Regions from separate parts of the Homo sapiens genome. Here region 1 is linked to region 2. Evidence: promoter capture Hi-C in 16 types of primary human blood cells and fetal thymus (Javierre and others, 2016). All regions are on one chromosome and are shown on one strand. Each heading gives the region's core, a stretch centred on a gene start or on the middle of the fragment in contact. The rest is flanking DNA. Distances are from core to core; before and after follow the strand shown.

The links. Contacts are between HindIII fragments. The CHiCAGO score rates a contact against its expected background, and 5 or more counts as called.
Region 1: a contact is called between a fragment that was not itself captured here and the fragment with the promoter of DEFB129 in region 2, in 10 of 17 cell types (megakaryocytes, naive B cells, M2 macrophages and 7 more). The highest score is 9.1, in megakaryocytes.

Annotation. Positions count from the first base shown.
Region 1 is chr20:329,980-336,939 of GRCh38, reverse strand. It overlaps SOX12 (SRY-box transcription factor 12), which reads right to left. Exons shown (of 1, transcript NM_006943.4): 1 at 6,716-6,960. Among named protein-coding and RNA genes, the nearest start is that of SOX12, 7.9 kb to the right of the region's middle. RefSeq lists an enhancer at 6,021-6,315. The HindIII fragment of the contact is 2,358 bases long and covers 3,590-5,947 here.
Region 2 is chr20:223,100-229,400 of GRCh38, reverse strand. DEFB129 (defensin beta 129) reads right to left here and starts at 2,143. Exons shown (of 2, transcript NM_080831.4): 1 at 2,055-2,143; 2 at 1-123. The coding sequence starts at 2,112. The HindIII fragment of the contact is 3,129 bases long and covers 839-3,967 here.

The DNA of each region.
Region 1 (6,960 bases), core at 3,519-6,018, 100 kb before region 2:
TGCCTGTAATCCCAGCACTTTGGGAGGCTGATGCTGGCGGATCACTTGAGGTCAGGAGTCTGAGACCAGCCTGGGTAACACGGTGAAAACCCGTCTCTACCAAATAATACAAAAAATTAGCCCGGTGTGGTGGTGTTCACCTATAATCCCAGCTTACTTTGGTGGCTGAGGCAGAAAAATCGTTTGAACTTGGGAGGTGGATGTTGCAGTGAGCTGAGATTGTGCCACTGTACTCCAGCCTAAGTGACAGAGTGAGACTCCATCTCAAAAAATAGAAAAGAACAGGCTGGGCACAGTGGCTCATGCTTGTAATCCCAAAGTTTGGGAGTTCGAGATCAGCCTGGCTAACATAGTGAAACCCTGTGTCTACTAAAAATACAAAATTAGCTGGGCATGGTGGCGTGCACCTGTAATCCCAGCTACTTGGGAGGCTGAGGCAGGAGAACTGCTTGTACCAGGGAGGCGGAGGTTGCAGTGAGCCGGGATCGCCCCACTGCACTCCAGCCTGGGCGACAGAGTGAGACTAGGTCTCAAAAAACAAAAGAAGAAGAAGAAGAAGAAAGAAGGAAGGAGAAGGAGGAGGAGGAGGAGGAGGAGGAGGAGGAGAAGAAGAAGAAGAAGAAGAGGAAGAGGAAGAAGAAGAAAAGAAAGAAGAAGAAGAAGAAAGAAGAAGAGAAGAAGAAGAAGAAGAAGAAGAAGAAGAAGAAGAAGAAGAAGAAGAAGAAGAAGAAGAAGAAGAGGAAAGAAGAAGAAGAAGAAAAGAAGAAGAACTCTGAGGAGCATATGACAGGGAATCACAGTCTGAAATGAAAGCCAGAGAGGTCAAAGACCTCCAAGTCACACAGCAAATCCTCCACTGACCTCAAACCCAGGTCTCTGTGTATTCTGGGTTGTATCCAGCTCTACACAGAGACCCTTGGCCTCAGGTTTTCTGGAGGAGAAAGAGCAAAACTTGACATTTAGTTAAAAGGAAACCCTGAAAACAGCAGAGGGTGAGAAACTGGGTTGCTAAGAAACCCCCAAGGATGGGGGAGAGGGTTGGCATCCATTGCTAGGCAACCTAGAAGAAGCCAGACAGGCAGGTTTGGCTACAGACACCTTTCTCCCTCCTTTTCATAGACTCCTAGAATGCCAGGCTAGATATGCTCTTAAGAGACATCTAAGGCTGGGTGTCGTGGCTCACACCTGTAATCCCAGCACTTTGAGAGGCCGAGGCAGGTGGATCACTTGAGGTCAGGAGTTCAAGACCAGCCTGGCCAACATGGTGAAACCCTGTTTCTACTAAAAATGCAAAAAAATTACCTGGGCCTGGTGGTGCATGCCTGTAATCCCAGTCACTTGGGAGGCTGAGGCAGAAAAATCACTTGAACCCGGGAGGCAGAGGTTGCAGTGAGCCGAGATCACAGCACTGCACTCCAGCCTGGGCGACAGAGTGAAACTCGGTCTCAAAAAAACAAAAACAAAAACAAAACAAAACAAAAACTTCTAGTCCAACCACCTAATCATACAGATGGGGAAACTGAGGCCTCGAAAGGCAAGGTGATTAGCCCAAAGTCCCACTAATTCCTCCACATGAGCAAAGATAAATAGCATGGGTGAGGCGGGAAGCATTGTCACTGGAGAGTGGCCTGGCGTAGCTGAGGATAAAGTGACCGAAGATAAATCTATAAAAGAGTGAGGGAGTCAACTGCAAAATGCCTTGAATTTCAAGAGTTTATCCTGAGGGTAGTAAGGGGCCATCGAAAGGTTTACAGCAGTGGTCAGGTTTGTGTTTTCAAAGGACCCCGGCTGGGCATGGTGGCTCACGCCTGTAATCCCAGCACTTTGGGAGGATGAGGTGGGCAGATCATATGAGGTAAGGAGTTCAAGACCAGCCTGACCAACATGGTAAAACCCTGTCTCTACTAAAAATACAAAAATTATCCAGGTGTGGTGGCATATGCCTGTAGTCCCAGCTACTCAGGAGGCTGAGGCAGGAGAATCGCTTGAACCTAGGAGGCGGAGATTGCAGTGAGCTGAGATTGCGCCATTGCACTCCAGCCTGGGCAATAGAGCGAGACGCGGTCTCAAAAAAAAGAGAAGACCCCTTGGAGGCTGGGCACAGTGTCTCACACCTGTAATTTCAGCACTTTAGGAGGCCAAGGCAGGAGGATCTCTGGAGGCCAGGAGTTTGTGACCAGCCTGGGCAACATAGCAAGACCCCATGTTTACCATACAAAAAAAAAGACTCCTTGACCCCTTGGGCTGCAGTGTGAAGACTCGGGATAAAGTCCAAATACCTTCAAGGTCCTTCTCACTCTTGCCTGTCACCCTCCTCTCTCCACACCTTCCCCGCAAGCTGGTTAGCTTCTGTGTCAGCCACTCTTACCAGGTCTTCCCATGTACTGTTGCTGGCATCTGTAAAGTCCTTTCCTTCACCTCACTCTTCCTTATCCTATTGTTCCAGTTATTCCTTCATAACAAACTGCCCCAAAACCTAATAGTGTGGACAACTGCCATCTCATTATGTTCGTGGACTCTGGGTCAGGAATTCAGACAGGATATAGAAGGGATGGCTTGTCTCTGCTCTGTGATGGCTGGGCCTCTGCTGGGAAGGCCCTCCAACAGCTGGGAGTGAGTTGAATTATGAGGGGCTGGAATCCCCTGGAAGCTTCTCAACTCATAAGTCTGGTGCCTGGGCTCAGCTGTCAACTGGAGCAGCTACCTACACATGGTCTTCCCACGTGGCCCGGGCTGCTTCTCCACATGGCAGTCTTGGCTGTTGGCCTTTCAACATGGCGGTTCAGCGTGACTTAGCCTTGGAAATCCTGCAGCACCATGTCTGCTGTGTCCTGTTGGTTACAAATGGATCATGAAGGCCCAGCCCAGATTCAAAGGGAAGGTAATTTAAAGGAGGAATGTCAAAGAACGTGTAGCCATGTTCTAAGGTCATCACATCCTACTGAGGTTTCATGCCACAGCTTAAACATCACCTCCTCCAGGGAATGACCTGACCACACCCCACTCCATTGTCTGGGTTAAACATCTCCTCAATGTTCTCCCAGACTCACTGTCCATCGCCAGCAAAGCATTTCCATTCCTGGGTTTATGTGTCTCCTCAGACCTGTGAGCTCACTGAGGACAAATCACGTTTTTCACTTTTGTATGCCCGGCACCTAGCACGCGGCCTGGTCAAGGCAAACCTTCCCCACCCTGCCCCCCACCTTTTTTTTTTTACAGGCAGGGTCTAACTCTGTCACCCAGGCTGGAGTGTAGTGGCATGACCATGGCTCACTGCAGCCTTGAACTCCTGGGCACAAGAGATCTTCCCAGCTCAGCCTCCCGAGTAGCTGGGACTATAGGCTCACGCCACTGTGCCTGGATACTTTTTTAAATTGTATTTTTTAGAGGCAGGGTCTTGTTTCCTTGCCCAGGCTGGTCTCAAACTCCTGGCTTCAAGTGATCCTCCCACCTCGGCCTCCCATAGTGCTGGGATTACAGGCATGAGCCACCATGCCCAGCCTAGACCCTTAAGAATGTTTGTTGAATGGGTGGGTGAATGTGCTGAGGCATGGAGTCCAGTCCAGAGTCATTCCTTCCTTATGAAGCTTACATACAAATTAGAGAGAGAGAGACAAAAAGTAAAAACTACAGGTGATAAATGCCAGATAGTGATAAATGCTATTCAGAAAAATAAAGCAAAGTAACAGGATAGTTTATGGAGGATGTTACTTTATATGGATGGTCAGGGAGGACACTGTGAGGTACTCCCTGTGCCTACTCTAGGGCGCCCTGGGAGCTGAGACCTGAAGGAAGTAAGACATGTGGCTATCTGGAGGAAGGGTATTTTTTTGTTTGTTTTTTGAGGTGAAGTCTCGCTTTGTCTTGCCCAGGCTGGAGTGCAGTGATGCGATCTCAGCTCACTGCAGCCTCTGCTTCCTGGATTCAAGTGATTCTCCTGTCTCAGCCTCCTGAGTAACTGGGACTGCAGGCATGTGTCACCACGCCCAGCTAATTTTGTATTTTTAGTAGAGAAGGGGTTTCGCCATGTTGGCCAGGCTGGTCTCGAACTCCTGACTTCAGGTGATCCACCCACCTGGACCTCCCAAAGTGCTAGGATTAGAAGCGTGAGCCACCTCGCCCAGCCGGAGGAAGGGTATCTTAAGCAGAGGGAAAAGCATGTGCAAAAGCCTTCAGGCGGAAGTGTGATTGGCACTTTTGAGGAACAGCAAGACCAGTGTGACTGGGCATGTGAGAAACAGAAAAAGTAGAAGATGAAGCCGAGGCTGAGCCACAGGCTACTTCTTATGGGGCTTTGCAGGCCATGCTGAGGACTCTGGCTTCTACTGAATGAGAGTCTTTGGAGAATTTTGAACAGTGGCAGGGTGTGCTGGGATTTACAGTTTAACCAGATCACTCCGGCTGCTGTGTGGACAATAAGACTATGAGTGGGGCAAAGGAAAACGCAAGGAGCCCTTCGTATGCCCTTATATCCTGGACCCAGAGGCCATGGAAGATGTGAGAAGTGACAAGACACAGGGCATATTTTGAAGGTAGAGCCAACAGGGTATAAGGGAGATGGCGCTGGGAGGAAAAGAGGCATCAAGGATAACTGAGAGGCTTTAGCCTTTCATTTCACATCAGCTGTGCAGATGTGGTCTGTGGAAGCAGGCTTGGGAGCACTGTGGAAACAGTTCATTTTTTGGCATGTCCAGTTTGAGGTGCCAATTAGATATATCAGTGGAGATGACAAGAAGGCAGCTAGTCTAGTCATGTCTGGGATGGAGATGTAGACCTGAGAATTCTCAGCTATGATACTTCAGCTTCCCAAGTAGCTGAGACTACAGGTGTGTACCACCGTGCCTGGCTAATTTTTTTAAAAAAAACTTTACTAGAGATTAGGTCTTGCTATGTTGGCCAGGTTGGTCTTGAACTCCTGGACTCAAGAAATCCTCCCACCTTGGCCTCCCGAAGTGCTGGGATTACAGGTGTGTGATAAGCAGAATTCTAAGATGGCCCCCAAGATTCCCAGTCTCTGGTGTAGCTGCCCTAGACAGCCTCCTCCCTTTTGAGTGTGGGCAAATCTAGTATGACAGCTGTCACTCTTATAAGGCTACAATATACTGCAAAGGTGAAGGGATTTTTTGCAGATATAAAATCCCACATTAGTTGATGCCTAATCAAAAAGGAGATTTTCCTGGGTGAGTCTGACCTAATTAGGGAAGGCTTTTTTTTTCTCTCTCTCTTTTTCCTTTTTTTTCTTTTTTTTTTTTTGAGACAGAGTCTTGCTCTGTCGCCCAGGCTGAAGTGCAGTGGCTTGGTCTTGGCTCACTGCAACCTCCGCCTCCCAGGTTCGAGTGATTCTCCTGCCTCAGCCTCCCAAGTAGCTGGGATTACAGGCGACTGCCACCACGCCAGGCTAATTTTTGTATTTTTAGTAGAGAAGGGGTTTCACCATTTGGCCAGGCTGGTCTCGAACTGCTGACCTCAGGTGATCCACCCACCTTGGCCTCCCAAAGTGCTGGGATTACAGGCATGAACACACCATGCCCAGCCAGGAGAGGCTTTTAAAAGAGAGCTTAAACCTTCCCTGAGCCAAGTGACTCCAAGCAGCAGAAAAATTCTCCTCTGGCCTTGACAAAATAAGTTGCAATATTGTGAGAAGGCTGGGGAGGCCCTGTGGGGGCCATGTGGCAAGAAACTGAGCAGCTTGTAGTAATCAAGAGTGGTACTAACTGACAGCCAGCAATAGAACAGGGATCTCTGTCCTATAAGCACAAAGAACTGAATTCTGCCCACTACCGTGAGAGCTTGGAAAAGGCTGCTGAGCTCCAAGAAGGAATGCGGGCCACCAGCACCCCAGCTGCTGCCTTGTGAGATCCTGAGCAGAGACCCAGCTAAGGCATGCTGGACTCCTGATGCATGGAGACTGAAATAACAAATGCATGTTGTTTTACACTGCTAAGCTTGTGGCAATTTGTTACGCAGCAATAGATGAGAAACAATACATCAGCGTATGGTGTTTTGAAAGCCTTGGAAGCAGGGTGGCTCACACCACCCAGGCAAGGGGCATGACCCAGCAATGAGTCAATGCATGAATGGAGTGAGACTCGAGTGGGACTCAGTTCCTTGGCCTGGGACACACCCCGACTCCCACCTCCCAACTGCACAGAACCTTGGTTCTACTCCTCTTAGCCACTAGGTGGCCCCAGAGACCCCATAAGGAGCTGTCTCCCCGACCTTTCAGGTCAGCATCTGAAATGGAAGGAACCAAAATGAGATGGTCCCTCTTCTAGTCCTATTACCGACTCCCAGTACAGCCCACAAAGGGGAAGAGGCTTGCCCAAGGTTCCACAGCTCTAGCATTATCTCCGGTCAGGCATTTTACCGTGCACCCCATTCCAGGCTATTCTGTAAGACAAACTCAGATGACGACCTCCCTCCCACCTGCTTTTACCAGGGGACGGACTGGCAGTGAGAATGGCATCAGCAGGGGGCCCTGGAAGGCCTTCGGGCTGAGGCTGGAGTCTCTAATTGACGTGACTGGTGTGCAGACTAGGAAAGTGTGCAGCCCCTAGTTTGGTGCTGATGGCATCGGTGAACAGACTCTTGACATTAGGATACATCCGACCGGCCTAGCTGCAGTTGCTGGGCCACTGACCCAATTCCCTTTGTCCAGTCTCTTGAACCCTCTGTTGTAGACTGGGTTTCTCTAGAAACAGACAATGAGACTGAGTTTGGGTTGCAAGATGTTTATTAGGAATAAGCACCTGTGAAAAGAAGAGGAAGAAGAGGAAGCAGGCCTGGGCATAGGAAGTCAAATTGTGCTGCAGGCCTGACGAAGCCCTGGCTGGCCTGGGCCTGCTGGGAGTACTGTCTGTCAGTGTCCGTCCCATGTTGGATTGAAATGACCAGGTGTTTATACCATGCCTCACTCAGACACCAGATACAGGCTGCCCCAGGAAGGGCGTGGTCTCAGGT
Region 2 (6,301 bases), core at 894-3,393:
TAACCACTTTTGGTCCAACACAACATTTTTTCATCTTGCATTTCTGTATCTCTTTTTCATCCACATTGCAGTGATCCCTGCATCTCCCCAAACCCATTAAACAGCGTCTCAAGCCAATAAATTCTGTATAAAAAAAGAGAAAGCCATTGAGCCAAGGTTAATAACTAGAGATGATGTTAAAACTGCTAGTGGGAGATGGATAGACTAAGAGAGAGTTTACTCATACTACATTTTAAGCCCAGTGTTTAGGAATGTTGATGAAGGCAAATGGGCAGGCTGAGAGCGTCTCTATGCCCCTCTTGAATCCAAAGTAAATTTCCTGTTTAGTCTGCCTTCCTTGAGTAACTTTAAGAAGCAAAGGGCACGTAGATGATAGAGTAATTATTTGCTTTTAGGATGGAATTTTAGACCTTCAACTTAGCATCTTAGGTACTTGTCAGACATCACTATCCCATCTCCATAATCTTGGGAAATACCAATGAGAGCCAAGTCCATCATAAAACTAATTTAAGAAAGAAGTTCAAAAGAGAATCAATAGAATTTTCAGGAGTCTTATCTTTTCACCAAACTCAGTAGCCCATGACTTCTCTCTTCTCAACAATCACTAGATCTGTGATTCCTGAAGCATGGTGTTCTATCTCTTCTAGCCTCTTTGGACACTCTATCTCTCAGAAGTCTCATTCATTATCCTAGCCTTAACCTCATATCCACCAAGGTAACTTCTGTATTGTTATCTATAATTCTAAATTTCCTGCTCGGCTTAGTACCTTATCTTTATCTGCTGAATGACTTTTCCATCCTAATGTCTCGTGTTTCTTTTTTCTGAATCAAGAAAGCTTTTCTCCCTTGTTCATCTTAATAACCCAATGATTTTCCCTAAATTACAAGAGATTTATGTAGCATCTGCTAATTTTCAAAGCATATTTGCATACATTTCCACATTGTTTTCTCATCAAACGGGAAACAGAAAAATTCTTATATTGGAATCAGCTGCATTGATTAACCCCATTATACTCATGTGAAATTGAAGTTCAAAGTGGTTAAGTGACTTTACCCAAGATGACACAGCCATACTTGCTTATGGTACTACCCTTTTCCTAGGGTCCCAAGATAAAAACATTAGAAGATAAAAACATTAGAAGCATCTTTGACACTTCCACTTTCCCTGCCCCGAAACCCTTTGCTAATTTTTTCAAATAGCTGGATGATTCTTGTATTCTGAAACAAATCTCAGTGCTTCTCCTTTCTTTTCCAAAAACAATGGTTAATCCCCTGGCTTAGCCTTTTGCTATAATGCATTCCTAGATGCCCTTATGGTAGTTTGGGGGTTTTCAGGAAGACAAAGTCTGAGAGAAGCGATAAAGGCTCTGGAAAACCTGAAAGAATTCAAGATGGAGAACACAGGCCTGTTTACTTGATCTTGAAAGGGTTTTTTTTTGAGCATGAGGGAAGAACTTCCTCCTTTCTACACCAAGCACAAACTGATAGGAAACTTTGCTTCAAGAGGTGGTTTCACAGGAAGGGGAACAACACACACTGGGGCCTGTTGGGTGGAGGGAGAGCATCAGGAAAAATAGCTAATGCATCCTGGGCTTAATACCTGGGCGATGGGTTGGTAGGTGCAGCAAATAACCATGACACACATTTACCTATGTAACAAACCGCACATCCTGCACAAGTACCCCAGGACTTTTTTTAAAAAAAAAGGGCTTTTAAGATAGAAATAGAGCTAAAAGGAGGTAGACCTGGGCTTAGTCTTAGCATGATAGACATATACAGGGCAGGAAGGCAGCATTATATTTTGGATAGTTTCTGAATAGACAAAAAATACCCTGCTTTCTCTGTAGCTTCCTGGGTGTTTCCACTGGACACAATCTGGCAGTTGGGGCCTATGAGAATGTATCAGTGCATGACTGATACAATAGGTAAGCTCTTTAGCCATCTTTTTGAACAGCTAATCTTTCAGTCTCCTCTCTTTGGGTTTCCATTGTCATGGGCAGCCAAATCCTTGGTTCCTCTCATCTACCCATCTTAAACTTGGGAATCCACATTACCTGTGTTCACCTGGTACTGTAGCATGAGGCTGGCAAAGATAGGAAAAAGGAGCTTCATGGTTGGGTGCCAGAGAGGAAGCCTTGAATCTGGGTTGATGCTCCTGAGCTCCAGCCTTTATTGGCCTCTTCGTGGCCTTATGCCATGAGCAGTGAAGTGCAGCCAAAGCAGGTTTGTATGCTGCTCGCAGTATAGTTGTGTTTTTTCTGACTCTGTTTGAAAACACCCTTTCTTGAACACCTCTATGCAACAAATTCCTTGCTCTTGATCCTGGAGGAAAACATAAGATAGGTAAGATGAGAAAGAAAGAGCAAGCCCTTTGCATGTGTCTCTCTTTTGCTTTTTTGAGATGGAGTCTCACTCTGTTGCCCAGGCTGGAGTGCAGTGGCGTGATCTCGACTCACTGCAACCTCCGCCTCCCAGGTTCAGGCAATCCTCCTGCCTCAGCCTCCCAAGTAGAGTATCTGGGACTACAGGCATGCACCACCATGCCCAGCTAACTTTTGTATTTTCAGTAGAGACGGGGTTTCACCATGTTGGCCAGGCTGGTCTCAAACTCCTGACCTCAAGTGATCCGCCCACCTTGGCCTCCCAAAGTGCTGGGGTTCCAGGCATGAGCCACCGCACCCAGTCGCATGTCTCTTTCTTAACGTTGGAGTAGGATAAGAGTTAGATATTTGATTCACTGATTGTCAGCCCAGTTATGCTAAGGTTGGCACTTAGTGCATGAGAATTAGAAGAGCTAGAGGAGAGTGAAGATTCTGCCTTGTTTGTACTGGTATGTCCAGTGGCCAGCATGGGTATTGGATCAACATACAAAGTCAGTACGTTTGTTAAACAAGTTCGTGGGAGACAGCTCTTGGCACATCTTTAACTTTTGAGTTTACAATGATTCCCACATCCTTTTAAAGTAGCAACTAAAAAAAAACTTTTTTAACTTCGCGGGTATATGTGCAGGATGTGCTGGTTTGTTACATAGGTAATGTGTGTCATGGGGGTTGGTTGTATAGATTATTTCATCACCCAGCTATTAAGCCTAGTGTCCATTAGTTATTTTTCCTCATCCTCTCCCTCCTCCCACCTTCCACTCTCCAGTAAGCTCCAGTGTGTGTTGTTCCCCTCTGTGTGTCCATGTGTTCTCATCATTTTGCTCCCACCTATAAGTGAGAACATGCAGTATTTGGTTTTCTGTTTCTGCCTTCATTTGCTAAGGATAATGGCCTCCAGCTCCATCCATGTCCCTGCAAAGGACACGATCTCATTCTTTTTTATGGCTGCATAGTATTCCGTGGTATATATGTACCACATTTTCTTTATCCATTCTTTATCCAAATGGCCAAATGATGGGCATTTGGGTTGATTCTATGTCTTTGTTATTGTGAATAGCGCTGCAGTGAACATATGCATGCATGTGTCTTTATAATAGAACCATTTATATTCCTTTGGGCATATACCCAGTAATAGGATTGCTAGGTCAAATGGTATTTCTGACTTTAGGTTTTTGAGGGATTGCCACACTATCTTCCACAATGGTTGAAATAATTAAAAGCAGCAATTTTTATAGTGTACTGCTCAGATTCCTTGGTCGTAGCTGATTGATCCAGGTGTAACAATAGAACCAAGCCTACCAATCAGATGCTTTCCCCTGCTAATTTGGGACATTTCCTAAGAAACTCAGATATTGAAGCTCATTGGCTCTGAATATTATTAATTGTTCAAGTTTCAAGAGTTTCCCTGGTTCCTCGCCTTCCTGAAATTCATGTCTTCTTAGGATTTCATTAGCTACTATAGTATCCAATGACTCCTCAGTTTTGTTTAAATTAACTGTTATTTTTTAAAACAATAAAAGCAAATCTTATGAACTTTCACTTTATGAAATGTATATTTTACTTCTATGAACAAAAATAATCAAGCTTAGGCATATTTACTTACTACTTGTCAATATCAAGAGATGGAATTAACAGCCCTTTGGAATCAGTTAATCCTGAATATCGCATATTAATTGGTTTCTGGTGTTTTAAGATGCATTGAAATAACATTATTCACCTCATTGTGTCTTGCTAGTCCCAAAGCAATAAGAATATGGAAAGTACTGGTACAAAGAGAAGCACAGTTATTATGGAACAAAAAGTTGAGTTAATAAGAATTGGAAAGTTATGAAAAATTAAGTATGTTGCATGTATATATGGAATGAATCTATCAACAGTGTAGCATAATTTTGTAAAAAGACAAATTATTCACATGTGCAAAGTGTTGCATTTATGTGTATCAGTTGGGAAATGAAAAACACTAGCTATTTTCAACAGAAATATTTTTAATACTCAGAATTATGTGCTTATAAACTCTCTACAGAAGCTGACTGTGGGCTTGGTCTCCCAGAATGACTTCCAGAACATTCCAACAAACTGGCCCAGCAGAGAATCTGCTAGTTCTTTCATAGTCAGGAAAGTAGGGTGACAGGATCCCATGATTAGACATGCTGGACTTCAAGAACACACCACGGTAGCTGTAATATAAGAGCAAGGATATTTTTCTGCTGCTTCTACAACTGTCTGTTGAAACCCATAGAGCTAGGGATCAGACATTGGAATGTAGCAGAAAAACTCAACTGAGTTTAAAGATTTAAGATTTAATTTCCCTAACAATTTAGAACTGTCAAATTTTCAATTTCTTCTTGGGTCACATCAAGTAATGTTTATTTCTTCTAAATTTCATTTTTGGCATAAGGTCACTCACAATATGTCCTTTGATCTCTTTACTATCTATAGAGTTTGTAGTGATGGCTACGTGTTTTATTCTTCATATGGGTAATGTGTTTTCAATTTTTTCTTTGTTATTCCTATAGTGAATTAATTAATTGGTCTTTTCAAAATCAGCTTTTGGTTTTGTTGATTCTATGTTTGATTTTTATTTAATTATATTTTATTTTAAATATTATGAAAATTAAAAAATATTTAATTATTTTCTCCTCTCAGCTTTATCTTCCTTTCTTTGAACTTCTTTGAATAAAATTTCATTTTATTCTGTTATTGTTTTCTAACTTATTATTTGTGTTGTTATCTCATACATTTTCAGCTTTTCTTCAGTATAACCAAGTGGGTAAGACTCTAATTTTCCCTTTATATGCAGCTTTAGCTGGACTTCATAAGTTTTTATTTGCAGTGTTTTGTTATCATAATCATTCACTTAAAAATAAACACTTCAATTTCCACTGTGTCATCTTTTCTGACATATGAATTAGTTTGAACCTTGCTATTCACAGTGTGGTGGAAAGACCAGAAGCATCAACACTTCCGGAGAGCTTGTCAGAAATGCAGGATTTCAATTCATCTCAGAATGAGTCAATCAAAATCTGCGTATTAGGAAGATCCTCAGGTGATTTGTATGTACTTTAATATCTGAGAAACATTGGTTGAGAAATGTGTTTCTTATCTGAGCATGTGGGGACATTTTAGTTATGAGGGAACTTCAAACAGTTTGTGGAAGATGACATTAAAATATAAAAATATAAAGATATAAACTTTATTTCTCAACATAAGCTCCATCAAGTTCAAGACACTTTTGTAAGCAATGGTACCAGCCACTTAGTCTATCCCTGAAGGACTGAGCTTCCTGGGAATTTAACCACATCAGTGTTCTTTTACATTATTAACTGAAGAAAAATTGGTGTCCTTTAAAGATTTTTTTTTAAGATTAGGAGATAAAAAGAAGTCAAAAGGAGCCATGTCAGGATGGCAATGTGGATGCCTAATGACTTTCCATCAAAACGCTTGAAAAATTGCCCTTGTTTGACTAGGGGAATGAGCAGGAGCATTGTCATGTTGGAGAAGGACTCTCTGGTGAAGTTTTCCTGGGTATTTTTCAGCTAAAGCTTTGGCTAACTTTCTCAAAACACTCTCATAATAAGCAGATGTTATTGTTCTTTGGCCCTCCAGAAAGTCAACAAGCAAAATGCCTTGTGCACCCCCAAAAATTGTTGACATGACTTTTGTTCTTAACTGGTCAGCTTTTGCTTGGACTGGATCACTTCCATCTCTTTGCTTTGATTTTGCTTTGTCTTCAGGGTCATACTGGTAAAGCCAGATTCCAACTTTTGTTACAGTGCTTTGAATAAATGCTTCAGGATCTTGATCCCACTTGTTTAAAGTTTCATTGAAAGCTGTGCTCTTGTTTGTAGCTGATTTTGGCACAATGGTTTTGGCGCCCATCAAGTGGAAAGTTTGTTCTTCTTTAATTTTTTAGTCAGATT